2 separate regions of the Homo sapiens genome follow, and region 2 is linked to region 1. Evidence: promoter capture Hi-C in 16 types of primary human blood cells and fetal thymus (Javierre and others, 2016). All regions are on one chromosome and are shown on one strand. Each heading gives the region's core, a stretch centred on a gene start or on the middle of the fragment in contact. The rest is flanking DNA. Distances are from core to core; before and after follow the strand shown. Region 1 overlaps HNRNPUL2 (heterogeneous nuclear ribonucleoprotein U like 2). Region 2 holds the start of EML3 (EMAP like 3).

What was found. Contacts are between HindIII fragments. The CHiCAGO score rates a contact against its expected background, and 5 or more counts as called.
Region 2: a contact is called between the fragment with the promoter of EML3 here and a fragment that was not itself captured in region 1, in 1 of 17 cell types (non-activated CD4 T cells). The highest score is 5.4, in non-activated CD4 T cells.

Annotation. Positions count from the first base shown.
Region 1 is chr11:62,708,937-62,715,117 of GRCh38, forward strand. It overlaps HNRNPUL2 (heterogeneous nuclear ribonucleoprotein U like 2), which reads right to left. Exons shown (of 14, transcript NM_001079559.3): 14 at 3,694-6,181. All of the region lies in intron 13 of HNRNPUL2-BSCL2 (HNRNPUL2-BSCL2 readthrough (NMD candidate)), which reads right to left. It overlaps GNG3 (G protein subunit gamma 3), which reads left to right. Exons shown (of 3, transcript NM_012202.5): 3 at 1-265. It also overlaps a transcript of BSCL2 not described here. Among named protein-coding and RNA genes, the nearest start is that of GNG3, 4.4 kb to the left of the region's middle. RefSeq lists enhancers at 1-391, 522-1,161. The HindIII fragment of the contact is 529 bases long and covers 3,921-4,449 here.
Region 2 is chr11:62,609,507-62,614,909 of GRCh38, forward strand. It overlaps EML3 (EMAP like 3), which reads right to left and starts at 3,269. Exons shown (of 22, transcript NM_153265.3): 1 at 2,930-3,269; 2 at 1,919-2,090; 3 at 1,581-1,838; 4 at 1,373-1,486; 5 at 123-190. The coding sequence starts at 2,951. ROM1 (retinal outer segment membrane protein 1) reads left to right here and starts at 3,751. Exons shown (of 3, transcript NM_000327.4): 1 at 3,751-4,365; 2 at 4,752-4,998; 3 at 5,115-5,403. The coding sequence starts at 3,776. The coding sequence ends at 5,333. RefSeq lists enhancers at 1,794-2,352, 2,353-2,912, 3,686-3,745 and a silencer at 2,756-3,635. The HindIII fragment of the contact is 22,044 bases long and covers 975-5,403 here.

The DNA.
Region 1 (6,181 bases), core at 2,935-5,434:
CTGAAGCACAAGGCCCACCCTCACCTATCTGTCGACCCCATTTCCTACCACCTTTGTGGCCGACCCCAAGCACCCCAGAGATATGAGGCACCCTTTGCTCCACCCACAGCAGGGCCCCGTCAGACTCTGCCAGCGCGTCCTGCCCGCTTCCCTCGGTGACCTGCTCAGACAATGGAGAGGGATGGGCCAGGTTCTTGCTCTCAGTCTCACCTGGAGCTACTGGGAGGGTAAAGCCATTTGAAGAATAAAGTCATCCAGAGCCTCAGGACAGCTCCTGTGTTAGAATTCTTGGGGGGAGAGGATCATCAAGCAATAGATCTGCCATACCCAGGGAAAAGGGCCAATCAATGCAGGCTAGACATCGTCAAGGATCGGAGATCAGAGGGGTCGGGGGATGGCGGGCGCGAGAGAGCGTCCACAGTGTAAGAATTAAGTACAAAAGACGCTCAAGAGGCTGCGAAGAGCAAACACACACACACAAACGTGCAACGAAGCCAAGTTAAAAGGTAAACAGGCCGAAGAGGGGGGATTTAGGGGAGGGTGCGGGAGTGCAGTCGTACAGCAGAGGAACTCTTAGGAGGGTAGGGGCGGAGCTTGGCTTCAGTTACCGCGACTGGAGCCGATTTTATACCTAAGATGGCTGCGCCCACAGCCACTCCCATTCCAAGATGGCCGTACCAACATGGCAGCCCCCACGTCACGGAGTTTACCGTACAGGGCTTCTCTTAAAATGGCGGCCCCCAGGCAACCGGCGTTCTCAATATGGTCCCTTCCGCCCTCTTCTGGTCTCAAAATGGCTGCCCCTGCCCTAACCAAGCCGGGGCCCGCGCCCTGCAACCCCGAAATCTGGATTTCGGTGTCCTCCCGATTGAGTCGAAGGCACACGGGCGGCCATAACGAAGAATCACTAAACAAGGGGACCCCAGGAAGTACAGCGTGGCCGACGCTGGTCGCGTGGATCTTGCGAGGGAATCTAGGTTTCTACATTTTGCCAAGAAAGGAGAGGCTCCCTTTGGAGCGGAAATATTAGCGGCAGGGGGTTAACCCCCGACCCTGTCCGTCTCGGTGCACCGCTCCTCAGTTGCTTCCTGGTCTTCCCAGGAGCTGGATAAGCCTGAAGTTGCTCAGTTTGGGTTTCCTAGTAGAACTGGGGCTTGTTTTTGCTTTCATTTTCCCCTCAGGCCGATTCAGCCACAGCAGCCAGAAAGCAGTGGCCGCACCCCTAATGTGCCTTGCAAAAGTCCAGCATGCTGTCTGGGCAGGGACCAAACTTAAGGCTTAACATGTCATGGTCATCTCCAGGACTCAAACATGGCGGAGGTTTACGAACACCAGAATGCCTCCTAGAATCTTTTCCTTCCAAGGGTGCACAGAGGCGAGATGGGACCAGGGACAAGACAAAGAACGTAACAATCCCAGTACGTGTGCTCCTGCTAGAGGTCCCCTAAACTCAGGGACGCATCCTCCCCAGGAAAAGCCTAGGCTGGCTCCTGTTTTGTGCCTGGATATACTTCGGGAAGGGAGGCTGCTTTGAAATAGTAGGGACAGCTCATTACCTCCAGCTTCCAGGTATCTTTGCACAGAAGACAGCAAAGTGGATAAAGGAAACCAAAGGAAGAAAGGTTGTTATCACCAGCAACTGAACTTAGCCTCCTAAGGATATCTTCATGAATTCCAGGGACACCCAGTGAACTTGGGTCACCTTAAGGTGTCCCAAGCAACTTTTTACTGTTGATGGAACTTCTGAGCTCTAAGAAGTCCTGGAGATCTTCTAATTAATTCCCTCATCCTAGAGATGAAGAAACGGGAGAAGTTTGCCCTCCTGGAGTGGGACCCTACCCCCATTCTGTTGCGGAGGAGCCTCAGTTCCTTCTTGGCACGGTGAAAATTCCAGGAAGGATCAATCAGGTCAGGTCCGTTTTAATCCCTGTATCCTGATAATGGCACATATCAGGCACCCAAATACCCAATGAATAGATTGTACTGTACATGCTTAAATGGCAAATGTGGCATGGCAGGGACCAAGCACCTTGCCTCCCTCACCCCCACTGTATCACGGTGTTGGGCAAGTTCCAGGGGAGTAAGTGAAATTTTCCACAACAGCTCAGACATGGTTAAATAAAAAAAAAAAAAATTAGAGTGTTTAATAAATGTAACCTTGATTTTTAAGAAAGCCTCTTTTTGGCCGGCCGGGCGTGGTGGCTCATGCCTGTAATCCCAGCACTTTGGGAGGCCGAGGCGGGCGGATCATCTGAGGTCAGGAGTTCGAGACCAGCCTGGCCAACCCGGTGAAAACTGTCTCTACTAAAAATACAAAAATTAGCCGGTGTGGTGGCGGGTACCTGTAATCCCAGCTACTTGGGAGGCTGAGGTAGGAGAATCACTTGAACCCGGGAGGCAGAGGTTGCGGTGAGCCGAGATTGTGCCACTGCACTCCAGCCTGGGCAACAAGAGCGAAACTCCGTCTCAAAACAAAACGAAACAAAACAAAGCGCCTCTCTTCAATTTTTCTGCACACTCAATGTTCCTACCCATCAGATTATAACTGCGTGGCTACAGCGCTAGGTGGGAAAATGGGGTTTAAGCAGTAACTAGAGACCAGGCATGAGCTATGATTAACCACTTTAAAAAATGATTAATTAGCTCTAACAGCAACTTAAATGTCCTAAAGAATAGATGGCTACCAAAATTAAGGGTGGCCTTCAGGGTACAAAACTGTAAACCCGGGTATCTGAATCCGTGTCACATACAGAGGGTAGGAATTAGAGCAGTATCTACATCAATACTACTACTCCTTCAGAACACTGGATGTCATGAGCCTGTGGTATCTCAGCTTTAAGACCCTGACCATTTATTAGAAACTGCCGTTAGGATCATTTCAGTGCTAATAATGCAATGGTGGCTGGGAGCGGAGGCTCACACCTGTAATCCCAGCACTTTGGGAGGCTGAGGCAGGCAGATCACGAGGTCAGGAGTTCAAGACCAGCCTGGCCAATATGGTGAAACCCTGTCTCTACTAGGAAAAAAAAAAAAAAAAAATTAGCTGGGCCTGGTGGCACACATGTGTAGTCCCAGCTACTCGGGAGGCTGAAGCAGAAAAATCGCTCGAACCCAGGAGGCGGAAGTTGCAGTGAGCCGAGAGCGTGCCACTGCACTCCAGCCTGGGTAACAGAGCGAGGCTCTGTCAAAAAAAAAAAATAAAAATAAAAATAAAAAATAAAAAAGCAATGGCGCTGTTGTAAATTTAATTTACCGTCTCGTTCTCCAGATTCACTGGAAAATAACCCCCATCAAACTTCTGTTGAATGAGTGGGCTTTCCCCCTAGCAGTAATTATTCATGAATATACTTATTTGGCTCCACAATGTACATTTAACTTCAAGCATCCAACTAGTTTTTGCATAGGCCAAATACAGAGGTCGTGAGTTATAATTTATTTTCCTATACTTCAATGGCTCGACTCTTGGCCTAAGCAAGCACTAAATAGACTAATAACTACCCACCCATGTCAACTGACTGCATGGCTGGCTCCCAAGTGAAGGCATGGTAGAATAGGGAGGGAACGGCAGCCACCATGCAAGAGGAGAGTCCTCCTTGGTTGGAGCCCATGCGACCTGAGAAAGAGGCATTAAAAAATGAATAAATAACCCAGTGACACCCTCCGCCCCAGTCAGTGCAGCCACAGGAGATAGGGTGAATTCAATCCAAATGGTTATTTATTCTAAAACTGGAAGCTACTTTGCCTACATTTTCGCCAGAATGGTGTAATGAGAACAGGGGAGGAAAAAGTTACAGATGTAAACAATGACACAGTTACATTTTTTTTTTAAATGGTAAAACCCCTTTTTACTGGCCACTTCCAAGAATGCTTTACAGGTTGTGCAAAAACATTTACAGGCTCCATGTGGTGTTTTTCTCACAAGCTTTCCTGTCTACAACTACAACAGACGTCTGATAAAACACTAAACAAGTCTTCTAAGGAAAACAAGGCTAGGGATTCCTCTGGTTACCATAATCCACATTTTCCCCCTTAACATAGTTTTTCATAATAAAAAGACAGAAACAAAACCCGGACATCTACTGTTGTTGCAAATGATCTCTTGGACTAAACCAACAAGGATGTGGCAGTTTCACTTTCCACCCACCTAGAAAAACAGTTTTGTAAAAAAGATTACTTTCTAGTGTCAAATATCAACAGCGAGTACCTCCCCTAACCCCTGCTGGAAAAAAACTCAACTTGATTTAGTTTAGTCCCCTTGCCCCTAAGGGCCCTAGCATCCCCATCCATGTCACAGACTACAAGAAAGATGCTATTTGCAGGACTAAACATCTGAAAAGGGGTGGCAGCCACTGCCTCAGGAAATTCAATTTTCTATTATAACATAATCTTGCCCTAAGGGAATTTCTTTGGGCTCCAGTTTTTACCTCCTTGCCTTGACATTATAAGCAAAGCTTTCTCAAACTCCCTTAATAATAATACAAAGTTAATGTGTTACAGAAAAATTCATGCAATCACTCCACTGCCACACAGAAATCCATTTGAGGACACCGCAGGGAAGCAGGTGCCAAGAGAAAGGACATGACTATGAGTAAGCAAACTTATCTCCTACCAGCCCCATTCCAGCCTTGGGGTCAGAGGTATTTGGGCGGAAGGGTGTGTCATGACAGACAAGGACACTAGAGGCCAGAATAAGGGTCTGTACACCTGAACAAGGGCTGCAGGGCAGTAACAGTGGGAGGAGGAGAGGAAGACCAAATCAGCCCACAATTTTAAACAGAGAACTGCCCAGGTGAGGAAATGGAAGTGAAGCATTTTCTAGTGGCACAGATTTTCTCACTAGGAACTGCTGCAGTATGTGGTGTCTGCTGAGTAAGCTCTTGGCTGACAGTGCTGAGCAGGAGGATGAATGAAAACTGAAGCTAGACATTGAAAGAGCATTCCATATCCCACCCATATTCTTGAACCCAGCAACCTACAGCTGTCTATCAAGAACTGGGAGGGTATTGGTAAAGTCACAAATGAAACTATCCCAACTGAAGGCTCCTGGCTAGAGGCCTCTCTGGGGACACACAGGGAAAGCGCCCCAAAAGGAATTTTGTTTCTAGAAGTCGGGAAGGGGTGCTCCCTTTCACACGCACATTTACACACGTTCACACTCACACTCTTCCCAAGGTTCAGCAGCCCCACTGAGCTGCCTCCCACCCCCCCCCACCACCCTCCCCTCTTCTATTCATTCTCTACCTGTGTATCAAAAAAACCAGCAGGGCACGAGCCCTCCACACTGTAGAAAATAGTTGCTAGTTGCTATTCTCAGCACCTGGGCCTGTGAGCCCACACCACAGGATTCACCTATATACATATCCCGCTGCAGTGAAAAGAATCCTGCTGTGTTTTCGTGTGAGCTGAAACCCTGAGAAACGTTCCTTCTCTCGCACTGTAAGAGGACAGACACTCTAACAGGGATGATTTCAGAGACCTCCCACCTCTCTCAACCTTGGAAGACAGAGACTAGAGACTGGCAAATCACAATCTTTAGGCTGAGGGCTGCAATCCCATTCTCCCCAAGATTTTACAGGAATTAATCAATGGGTCTATAGAAGGGGCAGGCTATTCTGCTCTGCCATCAAGGACAGTCCCCAGGCTTTCTTGGCCTGGGAATCCTGTAAAATAGAACCACCCACTGGCAGTCTCCATGCCTCAGCCAAACAGCACAAAGGCACAGGAAAATGGAGAGTTGGGACACTGTAAGCCTCCCAGCCCACCAGACCACATATCCCAAAAGGGAAAGGTCGGTAAAGAAAATACAAACGGTTAGTTGGTGCAAGTGATTGATAAGAGCCAATCGTTTATTTTCACTGTCCCAGTCACAAGCTCTCCCTCTGTCCCCACTCCTGCCTGCTCCTACCTGCTGTGGAGAGCACCCTCGCGCTGCCTCCCCACCCTCCCCACACCACCTCATCACTCTCCTTTACTTGGCTGCCAGTCCAGCTGCCTCAGAATGTCAGAAGGGTGCCATTTTCAGTTCTTTTCCTGTCTGACTGTAGGGTATAGAACAGGCAGCCCTAAGTGCTGCTTTCTGCGCAAATGTTTTTTGATTACAAATCTCTAACTAGGTTTGAAATGTTTTATAGAATAAGACAATATTCTTTTCAACAAACTTTAAAAAAAATGTACAGTTTTG
Region 2 (5,403 bases), core at 2,019-4,518, 100 kb before region 1:
CCCCTTCCAGGAAAGACAGAGCAGAACCCTACCCACCACACCTACCCAAAATAGCTCCTGGGGCTACAGCCCAAATCCTAACCCTGCCATCCAAGTTTTCCTCTCTGTCCCTCTTTACATACCCAAATTGTAATTGCTCCTCCGAGATCCAGGGCCCCCAGGGCTGGAGAGGGGGTCTTTTCCCCCACGGCTGTTGGGAAGAGAGAAAGCACAGGGATTGGGGTCAGGTCCCAAGACCTAAGCGGGGAGGGGCAGGACACAAGAAAAGAGGTCACTGCAGAAACCACAGTCACTTCTGCAAGCCTGTAGTTTGCTTCGTGAGTATCAGGGCCCTAGTAGATGGAGACTTCTAGTTCCATTTAAGAGATAAGAAGATTGAGGCTGAAGGGGCTGAGCGCACAGCACAAGGCCACAAAGCTTGGAAGAGGCAGTGCAGGGTGCCAGAGCCCTTTCTCTCCTCCAGACCACCAGGCCTCAGTCTCGCTCTGTCGCCCAGGCTGGAGTGCAGTGGTGCGACCTCAGCTCACTGCAACCTCCGCCTCCTGGGTTCAAGCAATTCTCCTGCCTTAGCCTCCCCAGTAGCTGGGATTACACGTGCGCGCCACTAGGCCCCGCTATTGACCTTTTCATTTCCCCATCCGTAAAATGGGACCAAAGGGAGTCGAGAATGTACACCAGCTCCGCCTCTCAGGGATCCGGGAGGCAAGCAAGAAAGTCCACATCTCTCCAGAGATTCCTGTCGTTAGATAACAGTAAAGTGATACTGTCTCTTCAGAGAATAAAGCACAGGCCAAGGACAGGGCTAGAATGAACATCCGGGTGTCCTGGGGCCCGTACATACTCTGAGGCAACTACATCCGGCCACTAGGATGTCCTCTTGCCCTCTAGAAGTAAGTATTAATAGATTGGTACTTGGTAGATCCAGCGGAAAGAGGGCTGAAGCTCTAGGGACAGCCGTCCATGAAAGCCATGGAAGCTTCTAGAAAAGCCTCTTGGGATCGCAGAAGGTGTGCTGTGATGTAGTGGAAAGGGTAGGGGAACTGGAGTCAGGAAGAGTTAGGTTCAAATCCTGACTCTAGCTGTGTGACCCCAGGCAAATGACTTACCCTCTCTGAGCCTGCTTCCTCACCTGTGCAATGAGCAGCATGAGACCACCTAACCCCCAAGGATGTTGTGGGGACTGACTGAGATGGAGGAGGTCGAGGGTTTAGCACAGTGCCCGGTACACAGCAGGCGCCCCAGAAGTGTTTGTTTCTTTATTCCTGTTGGGCAATCAGGTCCCCCCACCCCAACCAGGGATGTGAGGTGAGGGATATGGAAAGTCGAGAGCCTGCGCCTGGGGCGGGGTGGGTTGAGGGGAAGCCTCACCCACCTCTCTGTGCTCCCGGACCGCACTAACAGGTTGGCGGAGGAGATTGCCTTCCTGGAGAGCTTCTGCCGAGGCCGCTCTGAGGGGGATGAGGAGGAGGAAGAATTTCTTCGCGGCCTGGTGGGGGCATAGTGAAGGTCATTCCCTCCAACTGTACTCTGCAATCCTACCACCCCTCCCAGCTTCCGCCACAGGGCCACAGGACACCTACGTGTCAGCACGCTGTGGGGGCTGCAAGGGCCTGAGGATCCCCGGGGGGCCAGGGGAGCCAGCACCACTGCTGCTGCTGCCCCCTCCTTCAGATTGGGTCCCGCTAGGCTCTTCGCTGGCCCCCTGAGGGGCTGGGGGTCCATTGCTCAGGCCAGGGGGTCCAGGGGATGACTTGAGCTCCACCTCTGTCTCCGTCTGGGTGCCTCGGCTCACCAAGGAAGGGGTGCACGTGGGTGGCAGTCCTGGGGGGGCTGCAAGACTGCTGGAGAGATGTTGAATTAACCTGAAGCCCCAGAGGCCCCAAGGAGGAGGAAAAATGGGGTGTGATGACATGCATACCTGTCCCCCGGAGGAGCTGGTGTGCCAGAGCCCTGCAGGGAGGAAGGGGGCACCTGCAGCCGCAGCAGGCGAAGGGCTTCTGCCAGGGCTGCCTTTACCAGTTCCATCTCCTGCTCCTGCACCCGAAGCCGCTGGCTCAGAGACTGGAGGGCCTCCCGAGCAGGGCCGTCACCTGGGAAAAGGGCAAGAGGTACTCAGAATGTACCCATCACCTGAAGAAAGCGTAGAGGGGATTCTGTCTCCCCACAACTTTACATGTGTCCGGTAGGACTGCCCCTTTCAGGCAGCCCCAGGCTTGAATGCTCGTCCAGAGGGGAGGAGACGGTGGTAAAGGATCAAGGGCCTCCTTCTGGCAGGGCAGGCGAGAAACCTGGCAAAGCTCCCTTCCTGCTGCCGTCTCAGCCTCCGCAAAGACTGGGAGTACCATGGAGTACCGGGGGGGAAATATGGAGTACTGCCGAGGAACGTGGGAGCCACAGAGAGAGGCGCCGCACTGGTGAGGGCAGGGACCGCAGCCCTCCCCACGCGCCCCCAGCAAGCTCAGGTCTCCAGCGAAAGCTGAGTAACTGAGCCGGGGGAACACCAGGAGAGAGAACGGGGTGCGGGAATGGAGTCATACTGAGGACCCAGAGTACAAGAAAAGAGATCCAGAGTGACAGGAGAGAGTGTGAGTGGTGAGCAGAGTCACAGTGAAGGTCTCAGGGGGCAGTGGGGATCAGAAGGAAAAAGACCTGAAATACCACGAGAAGAGGCCCGGAGTAACGCAGGGGGCAGGGAAACATCGAGGGGCCCGGAGTTACGTGGGGCGTAGAATGACGCTGGGGAAGCCCGAAGTGACAGCAAGACCCAAGCAACTAGGGAGGGCGACCGGAGGAACTGTGGAGGATGCTCGGAGCCCCTGGGGCGGAGGAGCACGCGGGGACGCCTCCAGACAGCCGTCCAGCTCTGGCATAACCCGACGAGCCGGGCGCTCCGGGAAGGGGCACGCCGCCCGCCCCGCCCCGTACTCACCGGGCCCCGCGGCCCCGTCCATCCGGCCCCCGGGTTGCTCCGAGCGGCGGCGGCGGAGGAGGCGTCTAAGCCGCGGGGGCCACGGCCGGGGAGAGGGGAAGGGGAAGCACCCCGGGGCGCGCGCGAAGGGCGCCGTACCACCACCCCGAGGGGGCGCTGTCGGGCGCGGGGAAGGGGCCTGGAGGGGGCGCTGTGGGCCCGGGGCCGCAGTCTCCAGACCCCCCCGGGCCCTCGGACTCTCCCGGGGCCGCTCTCGGCTCCCGGGGGTGGGGTGGCAGGGCCGTCCGGTGCCACAGCGCCGCAGCACAAACAGGCGCCGGACGCGGAGCCGCCAGGAAGCGCGGGAGGGGGGGCGGGCCCGAGGGGGGGCCGGGCCGCTTGGTAACCCCTCCCTGTCCGGGCCTCGCCGCTCAGTACGGGGGCGGGGCTAGCCGGCTGACCCCCTGGCCTACTCCCGGCCTCCGGCTCCAGGCCCTTCCCGGATCCCCGCCCCCGGATTCCCAGGGGACGGGGAAGGGAGCGCCCGCCCCGATATCTCCGCCCCCCAGCCCCTAACCCCTCAGGGTTGAGCGGACCAACCCCACCACTTCCGCGAGGGGCAGGGGCGGGGTCACAAAACGGGCCCTCGGCCTAGGGGCGGAGTTTCTCGTAAGGGGCAAGGCCAAGGCATCTTGTATTGGGGCTGACAGGGGGGCGGGTTATTAGGGCTGAGGATGGGAGGATGCTCAGGGTATTGGGGTCAGGGTGGCATTAGCCCAGCTCAAGCCGGGCCGGGCTGACTCAGCATCCTGCCCCAGCCAGCTTCCATCCCTGACACCTCTGCATTCCCTTGGGCAGAGATGGGAGATGGCGCCGGTGTTGCCCCTGGTGCTGCCCCTGCAGCCCCGCATCCGCCTGGCACAAGGGCTCTGGCTCCTCTCCTGGCTGCTGGCGCTGGCTGGTGGCGTCATCCTCCTCTGTAGTGGGCACCTCCTGGTCCAGCTAAGGCACCTTGGCACCTTCCTGGCTCCCTCCTGTCAGTTCCCTGTCCTGCCCCAGGCTGCCCTGGCAGCGGGCGCGGTGGCTCTGGGCACAGGACTAGTGGGTGTAGGAGCCAGCCGGGCAAGTCTGAATGCAGCTCTATACCCTCCCTGGCGAGGGGTCCTGGGCCCGCTGCTGGTGGCTGGCACGGCTGGTGGGGGGGGGCTCCTGGTCGTCGGCCTCGGGCTAGCCCTGGCTTTGCCTGGGAGTCTGGATGAGGCGCTGGAGGAGGGCCTGGTGACTGCCTTGGCTCACTACAAGGACACAGAGGTGCCTGGGCACTGTCAGGCCAAAAGGCTGGTGGATGAGCTGCAACTGAGGTACCACTGCTGCGGGCGCCACGGGTACAAGGATTGGTTTGGGGTCCAGTGGGTCAGCAGCCGTTACCTGGATCCCGGTGACCGGGATGTGGCTGAGTGAGTGATTTGCGTCTCCCTTCCTCCTCCTCCTCCTCCCTGGACAGGCTCCCTCCTGCTGCCTTGAATCCCCACCTCGCTCAGAGGGGCAATAAGTAGAACATAGTGGCTGAGAGACTGGTTACAGCTCTGCCATTTATTAGCTGTGAAACCCAGGGCATGTTACCAAACCACCCTGGGCCCATTCCTTCACCTGTAAAATGGAAATAATAGTACTTATCTGATAGAGTTGTTGTGAAGATGTGAATTATGCTTGGCTGGCACATAGTACAGCAGTCAGTAAATGTTTTACTATTCTTTTTCCCTTCTGAACACCTGTGCCCTTCAGTCCCTCCCCCAGGCCTCTATCTCCAGACATCCTAACCCCTCTGTCCCTCCCTTTGCAGCCGGATCCAGAGCAATGTAGAAGGCCTATACCTGACTGATGGGGTCCCTTTCTCCTGTTGCAACCCCCACTCACCCCGGCCTTGCCTGCAAAACCGTCTTTCAGACTCCTACGCCCACCCCCTGTTCGATCCCCGACAACCCAACCAAAACCTCTGGGCCCAAGGGTGCCATGAGGTGCTGCTGGAGCACTTGCAGGACTTGGCAGGCACACTGGGTAGCATGCTGGCTGTCACCTTCCTACTGCAGGTGAGTCAGCAAAGCATCTGACACCTCCTCCCACCCGGGACTCCTCCCTGCCTCCAACCCTGGGCCTCTTGGAACCGCTGACTCTCCCTGACTCTTTCCCCTTGCTTCCCCCACAGGCTCTGGTGCTCCTTGGCCTGCGGTACCTGCAAACAGCACTGGAGGGGCTTGGAGGGGTCATTGATGCGGGAGGAGAGACCCAGGGCTATCTCTTTCCCAGTGGGCTGAAAGATATGCTGAAAACAGCATGGCTACAGGGAGGGGTTGCCTGCAGGCCAGCACCTGAGGAGGCCCCACCAGGAGAAGCACCTCCCAAGGAGGATCTATCTGAGGCCTAGAGGCCTGGAGCTTGGGGTGAGGAAGAGGGAGGGATGGACAAGTCTGAAAACCTCACAACTCCTTACCAAG